2 separate regions of the Homo sapiens genome follow, and region 1 is linked to region 2. Evidence: promoter capture Hi-C in 16 types of primary human blood cells and fetal thymus (Javierre and others, 2016). All regions are on one chromosome and are shown on one strand. The core of a region is centred on a gene start or on the middle of the fragment in contact, and the rest is flanking DNA. Distances in the headings are between cores, read along the strand shown.

What was found. The method cuts DNA at HindIII sites, captures the fragments that hold promoters and counts their contacts. A CHiCAGO score of 5 or more calls a contact.
Region 1: a contact is called between a fragment that was not itself captured here and the fragment with the promoter of SLC43A3 in region 2, in 4 of 17 cell types (monocytes, erythroblasts, activated CD4 T cells and 1 more). The highest score is 9.7, in monocytes.

Annotation. Positions count from the first base shown.
Region 1 is chr11:57,683,004-57,687,456 of GRCh38, reverse strand. All of the region lies in intron 3 of ZDHHC5 (zDHHC palmitoyltransferase 5), which reads right to left. Among named protein-coding and RNA genes, the nearest start is that of ZDHHC5, 17 kb to the right of the region's middle. The HindIII fragment of the contact is 5,752 bases long and covers 1-4,351 here.
Region 2 is chr11:57,424,413-57,429,138 of GRCh38, reverse strand. SLC43A3 (solute carrier family 43 member 3) reads left to right here and starts at 2,018. Exons shown (of 14, transcript NM_199329.3): 1 at 2,018-2,077; 2 at 2,487-2,551; 3 at 2,787-3,150; 4 at 3,469-3,598. The coding sequence starts at 2,967. RefSeq lists a silencer at 1,899-2,258 and enhancers at 2,501-3,293, 2,402-3,601, 3,294-4,086. The HindIII fragment of the contact is 9,438 bases long and covers 1-4,726 here.

The DNA of each region.
Region 1 (4,453 bases), core at 226-2,725, 260 kb before region 2:
TGGGATTACAGGCGCACGCCACTTCGGCAGCTAATTTTTTGTATTTTTAATAGAGACGGGGTTTTACCGTGTTCCCCAGGCTGGTCTCAAACTCCTGAGCTCAGGCAATCCACCTGCCTCAGCTTCCCAAAGTATTAAGATTACAAGCATGGGCCACCGCACCCAGAGCAATTTTTATTATTAACCTAGAAAAAAAAAATGTGGGAAGGAAAAATTAAATAGATGATAGTGTGGAATTAAAAATTAAGTTTTCAAATTTTACTGATTTCTTTACATAGCATTTTTTCATATTTACATCACAAGAAATGCTAGGTAAAGAACTGTACAGCTGGGTACGGTGGCTCATGCCTGTAATCCCAGCACTTTGGGAGGCCAAGGAGGGCAGATGACTTGAGGCCAGGAGTTCAAGACCAGCCTGGCCAAAATGGCGAAACCCCATCTCTACAAAAAATATAAAAATTAACCAGGGGTGGTGGCACACGCCTGTAATCCCAGCTACTTGGGAGGCTGAGGCAGGAGAATGGCTTGAATCTGGGAGGCAGAGGTTGCAGTAAGCCAAGATCATGCCACTGCACTCCAGCCTTGGTGACAGAGTAAGACACTGTCTGGAAAAAAAAAAAAAACACACACACACACAAATATATACTGCAGATACATGGTATACATAAATATACACATATATTTTTTAAGTCTTCAAAATATTGCAAGGATATATACCACAATATAACAGTAGTTAGCTCTGGTCTGTGAAATTATAGGTAATGTTTTGCCTTTTTTGTACTTCGTACATAATGAATGTGCACTACTTATTGAAATCTTTAAATAAAAGATTTTTTCTTTTGGTCAGGCACAGTGGCTCATGCCTGTAATCCCAGCACTCTGGGAGGGTGAGGCAGGTGGATCATTTGAGGTCAGGAGTTCCAGAGTAGCTTGGCCAACATGGTGAGACCCCATCTCTACTAAAAATACAAAAATTAGCCAGGCACGGTGGCACGCTCCTGTAATTCCAGCGACTCGGGAGGCTGAGGTAGAATAATTGCTTGAACCCGAAAGGCAGAGTTTGCAGTGAGCCGAGATGGAGCCACTGCACTCCAGCCTGGGCAACAGAGAGTGAGACTCTGTCTCAAAAAAAAAAAGATTTTTTTCTTTTAAAGGGAAAAAATTCAAATGCTATTTTTCTTTTAAGAGAGTTTTGCTCTATCACCCAGGCTGGAGTGCTGTGCTGCGACCACAGCTCACTGCAGCCCTGAACTCCTGGGCTCAACTGATCCTCCAACCTCAGCCTCCCAAGTAGCTGGAACCGCAGGTGGGCACCAGCATGCCCAGTTGCAATGCTCCTTATTTTGAAATGTCTGATCCTTCTACATCATCATCTACCAGAAGTGATCTCTTTGATTACTCTTACACAATGTATTTGTTTTTTGTTTGTTTGTTTTGAGATGTAGTCTCACACTGTCGCTGGAGTGCAGTGGCGCAATCTCAGCTCACAGTAACCTCCACCTCCCGGGTTCAAGCGATTCTCCTGCCTCAGCCTCCCGAGTAGCTGGGATTACAGGCATGCGCCACCACGCCCGGCTAATTTTGTATTTTTAGTAGAGACAGGGTTTCTCCATGTTGGTCAGGCTTGTCTCGAACTCCCAACCTCAGGTGATCCACTCACCTGGGCCACCCAAAGAGTTGGGATTACAGGCGTGAGTCACGGCACCCGGCCCACGGTGTATTTGTTTATAGAGGTGTCTTCCTATCTTCCTTTCTAGTCTGAGCTATTTGAAAGGAATGACCTTTTTATTTTTTATTTACTTTTCTTCAGATGGAGTTTTGCTCTTATCGCCCAGGCTAGAGTGCAATGGGGCAATCTCGGCTCATCACAACCTCCACCTCCCAGGTTCAAGCAATTCTCCTGTCTCAGCCTTCCAAGGAGCTGGGGTTACAGGCACGTGCACTACCATGCCTGGCTAATTTTTATATTTTTAGTAGAGACGGGGTTTCGCCATGTTGGCCAGGCTGGTCTCGAACTCCTGACCTCAAGTGATCCGCCCTGGCCTCCCAAAGTGCTGGGATTACAGGCGTAAGCCACCACGCCCGGCCAGCAATGACCTTCTTAAAAACCCCAAATGACCATCATAGTGCCTTCCATAATACATCAATAAATATTTGATGAATGAACATTAAAGGCTCATTAAAATAGCCTTTCTTGGCTTTAGGGACACAAAGTTCTTTTCCCTCACCCAATCTTTGAAGGGAAGTCACAAACAAAGCACAATGATGTAGGCTTTGGGAGCACAATGAAGTTCTTTTTTTCTTTCTTTTTGAGACGGAGTCTTGCTGTTGCCCAGGCTGGAGTGCAATGGCACAATCTCGGCTCACTGCAAACTCTGCCTCCCCCACTCAAGCGATTCTCCTGCCTCAGCCTCCCAAGTAGCTGGGATCACAGGCACCCACCACCATGTCGGGCTAATTTTTGTATTTTTCAGTAAAGACAGGGTTTTACCATGTTGACCAGGCTGGTCTTAAAGTCCTGACCTCAGGTGATCTGCCCACCTTGGCCTCCCAAAGTGCTGGGATTAAGATGTGAGCCACCACGCCAAGCCTACAGTGAATTTCAGAAAAACTTCATCTCAGCAGAGTTGCCAGCCCGAAACTACTTGTCTCACTCTTGCAAAATAACCTCACATTTGAGAGGAAAACTACATGTCATCAGTGACAACCTTTGTCAACTTATTTTCTTTCTACCTTTTAGTCCACTGATGATGGTTCTCTCCCCTCCTATTCCAGAAAGAGCCTACTTCTTCTGCAAGCATAACCTTCAGAAATGTACTGGAAAGCATCTCCTTCCTCTAAAAGTCCAATTTCAATTATCACCTTTCTTCAACCTCAGCTTCTCTCCTCTGGTTCCATCTCTGCATGCTACAAACAAGCTAAATTCTGTATCCTAAAAAACTCTCTCCTCCCGTAGCAATTCTCCTGCCTCACCCTCCCGAGTAGCTGGGATTACAGGCATGTGCCACCACACCCGGCTAATTTTTTGTATTTTTAGTAGAGATGGGTTTTCTCCATGTTGGTCAGGCTGGTCTCAAACTCCCGACCTCGGGTGATCTGCCCACCTCAGCCTCCCAAAGTGCTGGGATTACAGGCATGAACCACTGTGCCCAGCCAGCTTACTTCTTAAAAGAGTAATTTTGGGCCAGGCGCGGTGGCTCACGCCTATAATCCCAGCACATTGGGAAGCTGAGGCAGGCGAATCACAAGGTCAGGAGTTCAATACCAGCCTGGCCAATATGGAAACCCCATCTCTACCAAGAATAGGTATAGAAAAATTAGCTGTGTGTGGTGGCCCGCGCCTGTAGTCCCAGCAATTCTGGAGGCTGAGGTGGGAGATCACCTGAGCCAGGGGGGGGTCAAGGCTGCAGTGAGCCGTGATTGCGCCACTGCACTCCAGCCTGGGCAACAGAGTGAGACGCTGTCTCAAAAAAAAAAAAAAAAATTAATTATTAGTTACCAAAAAAAATGGGAAATTTGAGTTTCCATACTATTGGAGCTCTCTAATTTCTAATACTGCCAACCATCGGCTATTTGATGAATTTTCCTTAGTTCCCACTTTGTTCTATTTCTCCTCCTCCTAACTCTTCTTACTCAATCCTTCTTCATGGCTCTTCCTCCTCCTCTGATCGTTACAAAAATGTCAGTGCTGATCAGGTCTAACCTCAGTTCTTTCATAATCTCACAGTATTTTCTCTGGACAATCTTACTCCTGTTGTTTCAAATACCACATGGATGAAGATTATTAAATCAAGGTCTTCAACACTGACTATTCAATTGCCCACTGGGTAACTATCTGACTGATTCAAGTATATCAAATTCAACATGTCTAAGAGTATTTATTTTCTGTCTTCCCTCCAAACCCGTTTGACATTCTTGTATCTCATATTCAGGTTTATAAAAATCAGTATCCAACTTATCTCCCAGTTATGAACCTTGAAACTACTCTAGATAATTCCTCCACTTTCTCTCTCTTGCCCAATAAAATCATGAAAAGTCATGAAAAATTATTGAGTCTACTACTAAAAAATCTGTAAATCCAGCCTTGAATTCAAGTTCTCATCTGGTTTATTTCCACAGCCTCCCAAAAGGTAGCTGTAATTCTTACACGAATTATTTTTCTAAAAGGAATTCTGATGTTGAGTCCTCCAATTAAAGACCTCTTCCTATCCAAAGGAAAATGTATGATCTATTTAACTTAGTATGTAAAGTCCTTGACAATTTGGCTCTGGGTTTACCTCCCATCCCTCTGGTCACACCATGCATAACATCCTCTAGCCCCACTAAGTTTGCCATTTCATGGCTACAAGCTTCTGCATGTGCTGTTTCCTCTGCCTAAAAATGCCCTTCCCTCCTATATTCTACTTGGTAAAGTCTTTCCCACCTATTTTCAGCAGCATTTCCCCAATTTATT
Region 2 (4,726 bases), core at 769-3,268:
GGTGCACCGTCAGACCTTATTATAATCACTTCTCTCTCTGATGTTACTCATTAATCCTCATTGGAGCCACGCAGGAGAGTGATCAGAATAGCATCTGCCTTTTCTAGCTGCTGGAATTCGAACCAAAGAACATGGGAATGGTTCAGAGGATATTCTAATTTCCTGTCCCATCAGTTCAGTAAGACTTGTGTTAGTGGAGGCCACGTCTTCTGCAGACATTGATGGGAGATGTGGAGTGGAGGCTCTAAGAGTCAAGAGAGGTAACAAGATAAGGTGGACAGAACCCTGGACGACCTGCCCCGTGTCCCGTGCTTCAGTCCTGGATGTACAGATAGCCCATGAGCTAGATCTTTCTGGCAGGCTCCTGCAGATTAACATTCTAAAATCTGTCTCTTTACTTTGACTTTTTTCTGTTTCTCCCTTGCTACTTCCACACTTACTGATCCCCCCAGGAGACTAAAATGTATGCCAGAGCAGAAGATAGGGCATGCATTAATTTCAGAGTCTTTGTGTCTTGCAGTAAAATAGAAAATCTTGCATCTTAAGCCCTGTTTGTCCTGGGATGCTATATTTTTGTGGATTTTCTCCCATAAATAATGTTATTTTAAGAAAAGACTTGTTTTCTCTAATGTCCAAATGTTTGTTAAGACGGGGTGATGAGAGCATACGTTTCAGAGTTGGGAAGGTACTGCAGCTTTGTAGAATGACCGTGGGCAAGTTCCTTTGAAATTCCTCCCCAGAGCTGCTTCTCTGGCTCTGTCTACATAACTGCAGACTAGAAAATCTACTACCCTACAATCTGCCTATAGCACCTGCGCCATGCAGGGACCTCATACACCCATCTTATACTTCTTTTATGACAATTCCTATAATTAAGGTACTATTGTCCTCGTCTTACAGGTGGGGCAGCCAAAGAGCTTGCCTCAGGTTGTATAACTAGTGAGTAGCTTGGGGTACAGGACCCCAGCCACCCTTCCTCCATTCAGTCAAGTCACTAGGGTGGTTGCAGACTTTTATCTTTTGTGCTTTGGTGGTGAGCTGGAAAATCCTCAGTTCTGGCTGTCCCCTATCGTAACCTCTATTTCTTCCTCTTAAAAAAAAGAGGAGTGGGCTTGGAATAGCTGGAGTTCCTGGGCCCTCAGGGGATCCAGGTAGCTGGGGTTGGGAGTCTGCAGACTGCATCTAATACGCAAGAAGCTCTCCCCAAACTGAGCTTTTGGCAAGGAAACGGCCACACAGGCCAAAGAAGACGTCAGCTCACGTGCTCTGGGCTGGAAGGATAGTAAGGCAGCTGCTTAGTAAGGCCTCACGCTGATCACAAGCTCCGATGAGCAATTATATATGTCTTTGATTAATAAAAAATGGGGCAATGAATGGTTAATCAATGCAGTCTGGCGGGAAGGCTCTTTCAGAACCTGGGGGGCGGGGGTGAGGCAGGGAGTCATCTAAGGGGTTTTTGGGAGTGAAAATATGGGGCAGTCCTCCAGGGGATGGTTTCTGAAAAGCCCTCAGTCCTGGTTCTTGGCTTCCTGATTCTGTGGTTGGGATTTTTTTGGCAGCTCTGGGAGTGTGAAACTGGGAGAGACGGTTAAGCTGGTGAGCAAATAGGAAAAATATGTTCCCTGCCAACCCAGCGGTCAAGGCAAAATGCACAAATAGAGTGTGTGTGTCCCTATGCCCTCATGTGCTGTCTGTGTGTCCTCTGGGTGCTGGGTGTGACATTTTCCCTAGGTGGGCCTGAGCGAGTAACAGCATTCAACTAACTTGGTTAGGGGAGGCAGAGGCAAGGGGGCTGGGAGGCTGAAAGGCAGCGAGGAGGGAGGGAAAGACACCGCTGGGGTTCTAGGGGGTTCTAGAGGGAGAAGTTTCAAGAGGGAGAGGTAAAAAGGGCGCGGGAGGCTGTGAGCAAGGGAAAAGAAGAAGGAAGTGATGGAGAGTGGGAGGTCTGCCCCAGCCCCTTCCGGGCGGGCAGGAGGGGGCGGAGGCGAGCAGGGGACTGGGAGGGGCTGCGAGAGGCGCGAATGCGAACCTGGCCCGTGCGGAAAGGGCGCGGAGAGCCCCGGCGCGGAGCAGGCGGGTAGGGCGAAGGGTCCCCTTTCGGGCGCCATGGGGCGCCGAGCGCGGCCTGGCCCCTCGGGCTCCTCTGCGGGGAGGGCAGGCCGCAGGCTGGAGCGGGGTGCGGAGGCTGGCGGGGAGCGGCCCCCGGAGGCTTTCCTGGTAGAAGTTGATGCGAGGAAGGGCGGCGGGGACCAGGTTTGCGAGTCCTAGGCGAGGGTCATGGGAGTTGGGGGTATTTCTGGCAGTAGAATGGCCTGCGTCGTGACTAAACTAGCCCTGTGACCTTGGGCAAGTTCCTGAAATCCATGGGAGCTTTTGTTTCATTGTCAGTAAACTGAAGATAACACCAACTTGGCAGCGGGAGTTTGTGTCTTCTGTATGAAATCTCCCTGCCTCTGCACCTGGTTGAGTTGCTGTCATTATTTTAGGGGACGGTATTCAGAATTCGAGCGCAGGAGCTCCGCTTCTCCACCTGCTCCCGGGGAGCTATTGGGTAAGTCGTTTATCTCACCTGTGACTCCAGGTGGCCATCAAGACCTGCCTCTCTACTTGCCACGTGGTTACTCAAATGCAGTGCCTAAGATGATGTATTGGAGTATTTATTCCCCACATTTGCTGCCAGCGGCCATGATCATCCTGCCTCTTAATGCACCTCACAAATAACTCTAGTCTACCTTTCCCTTTCCCGCAGGCCTCCTCTTCCAGCAGCCTCTATCTTTATTCTACAGGATCCAGAGAATCACCCGCTGATGGTTTTTGCCCAGGCCTGAAACAACCAGAGAGCTACGGGAAAGGAAGGGCTTGGCTTGCCAGAGGAATTTTCCAAGTGCTCAAACGCCAGGCTTACGGCGCCTGTGATCCGTCCAGGAGGACAAAGTGGGATTTGAAGATCCACTCCACTTCTGCTCATGGCGGGCCAGGGCCTGCCCCTGCACGTGGCCACACTGCTGACTGGGCTGCTGGAATGCCTGGGCTTTGCTGGCGTCCTCTTTGGCTGGCCTTCACTAGTGTTTGTCTTCAAGAATGAAGATTACTTTAAGGATCTGTGTGGACCAGATGCTGGGCCGATTGGCAATGCCACAGGGCAGGCTGGTAAGGGCAGGGATGACTTTTCTAAGGAAGTTAAGTCTGGCTCCCACGTGGTGGCAAGGAGCAGGAAGGACTCTGCCCCCTGCCCACCCCTCTTTCTATGATGAGAGGAAGGGTCAGCAGCTCTCACCCCACTTGATCTGGGAAGTGCCTGGGAGGGAGGCACCAGCTCCTGAGGGGTAATTAGGGGCAGCCACATTTCAACTCAGCTTAAGGGACAAGTTTGCGACCGACAAGCTGTCTGAGGTGGAGGGGAGCCCAGCCTGTGTGCTCATTTGGCAGGAAGGCTGGGATGCATGGGAGACCTTTTTTCTACTCCAGACTGCAAAGCCCAGGATGAGAGGTTCTCACTCATCTTCACCCTGGGGTCCTTCATGAACAACTTCATGACATTCCCCACTGGCTACATCTTTGACCGGTTCAAGACCACCGTGGCACGCCTCATAGCCATGTAAGTCCCAAAGGCCAGCCCAGGCAAAGGTGGGTAAGAGGAATCCTTCAGGCAGCAGCCTAGCTTGGAGTGAAATCCAGAGTCAGACAGCCCGGCCACCCTGCCAGGCACCACACCTGCAGCTCGCTCCCAGCAGCTGTTAGGAACAGCCCCAGGCAGCGGGACTCTCTCTAGACTTGCCCACTTCACCACAGCCCCACTTCCATTTCCTTACCTCGTTCCCTGCTCTGCATAAATGTGGCTTCCCTATCACGTGCTGAATTGAGCCGGAGGCCAGGGTGACTTCCTGTAAGGGCTGGCTTGGAGCCAGGGTTACAAAATTAGCAAAACCTAAAATTGCTCTTCTCTTCCTTCACCCCAAGGATCCTTGTCCTCATCCCCTGCACAGCCTCACATCCAGGTTGCCCAGGCTTCATCCTCATCCTCCTCACCGCCCCCCCTCCCCGCCCCAACAGCCAATCACTCCCTAGGGGCTTAGCTAATAGGAAGTTTCTTTGGTATTGCCACTGGTGGAATTTCAGGTCCCTTCTGACTGGAGGGGAGACTGGGGGGGTTTCCTGTGCAGATGAGTCAGAAGGTTCGGGACGTGATCTCACACACAGTGTGTTGCTGCATCCTAATCTCGTGCTCTGTGGCCAGGCTCAGTGGTAATCAGCGGCCTGCTGGGGGCTGATACAGCTCAGAGCAGGTGCTCCCAGGGAGGCACATGTGAGATTGGCTGTCAGAGAGAGAGACGGGAGGGCTGGCTGGGCCTGCCTTTCCGGAAACAGCCAGAGTAAAGCCAGTCCCTTACAATTTAAGCCTTTGGATGCAGAATGACTGTACCTCAGTCCTTCTTGGTCCTTGGCTCCCTGCTACCTCCCCTTTCCTCCCCTTCCTTTGTCCCCTCCCTCTTCTCCAGCCTTAGGATATTGCTTTTTTTTTTTTACTCCATGCCTTACAAGACCCCCAAATGCTAAGGGAGCCTGATAACCTTGGGACTGTAGTCCTGAAATCATAGCACTCTGAGCTAGATCAGTCCGATCATTTCTTTTTATAGAAAAGGCTCCTGAGGCCCAGAGAAGGACAGCGCCTTGCCCAAGGTCACAGAGTGAGGAGGAGTTAGAACTCAAGGCCTTGATTTGCAGA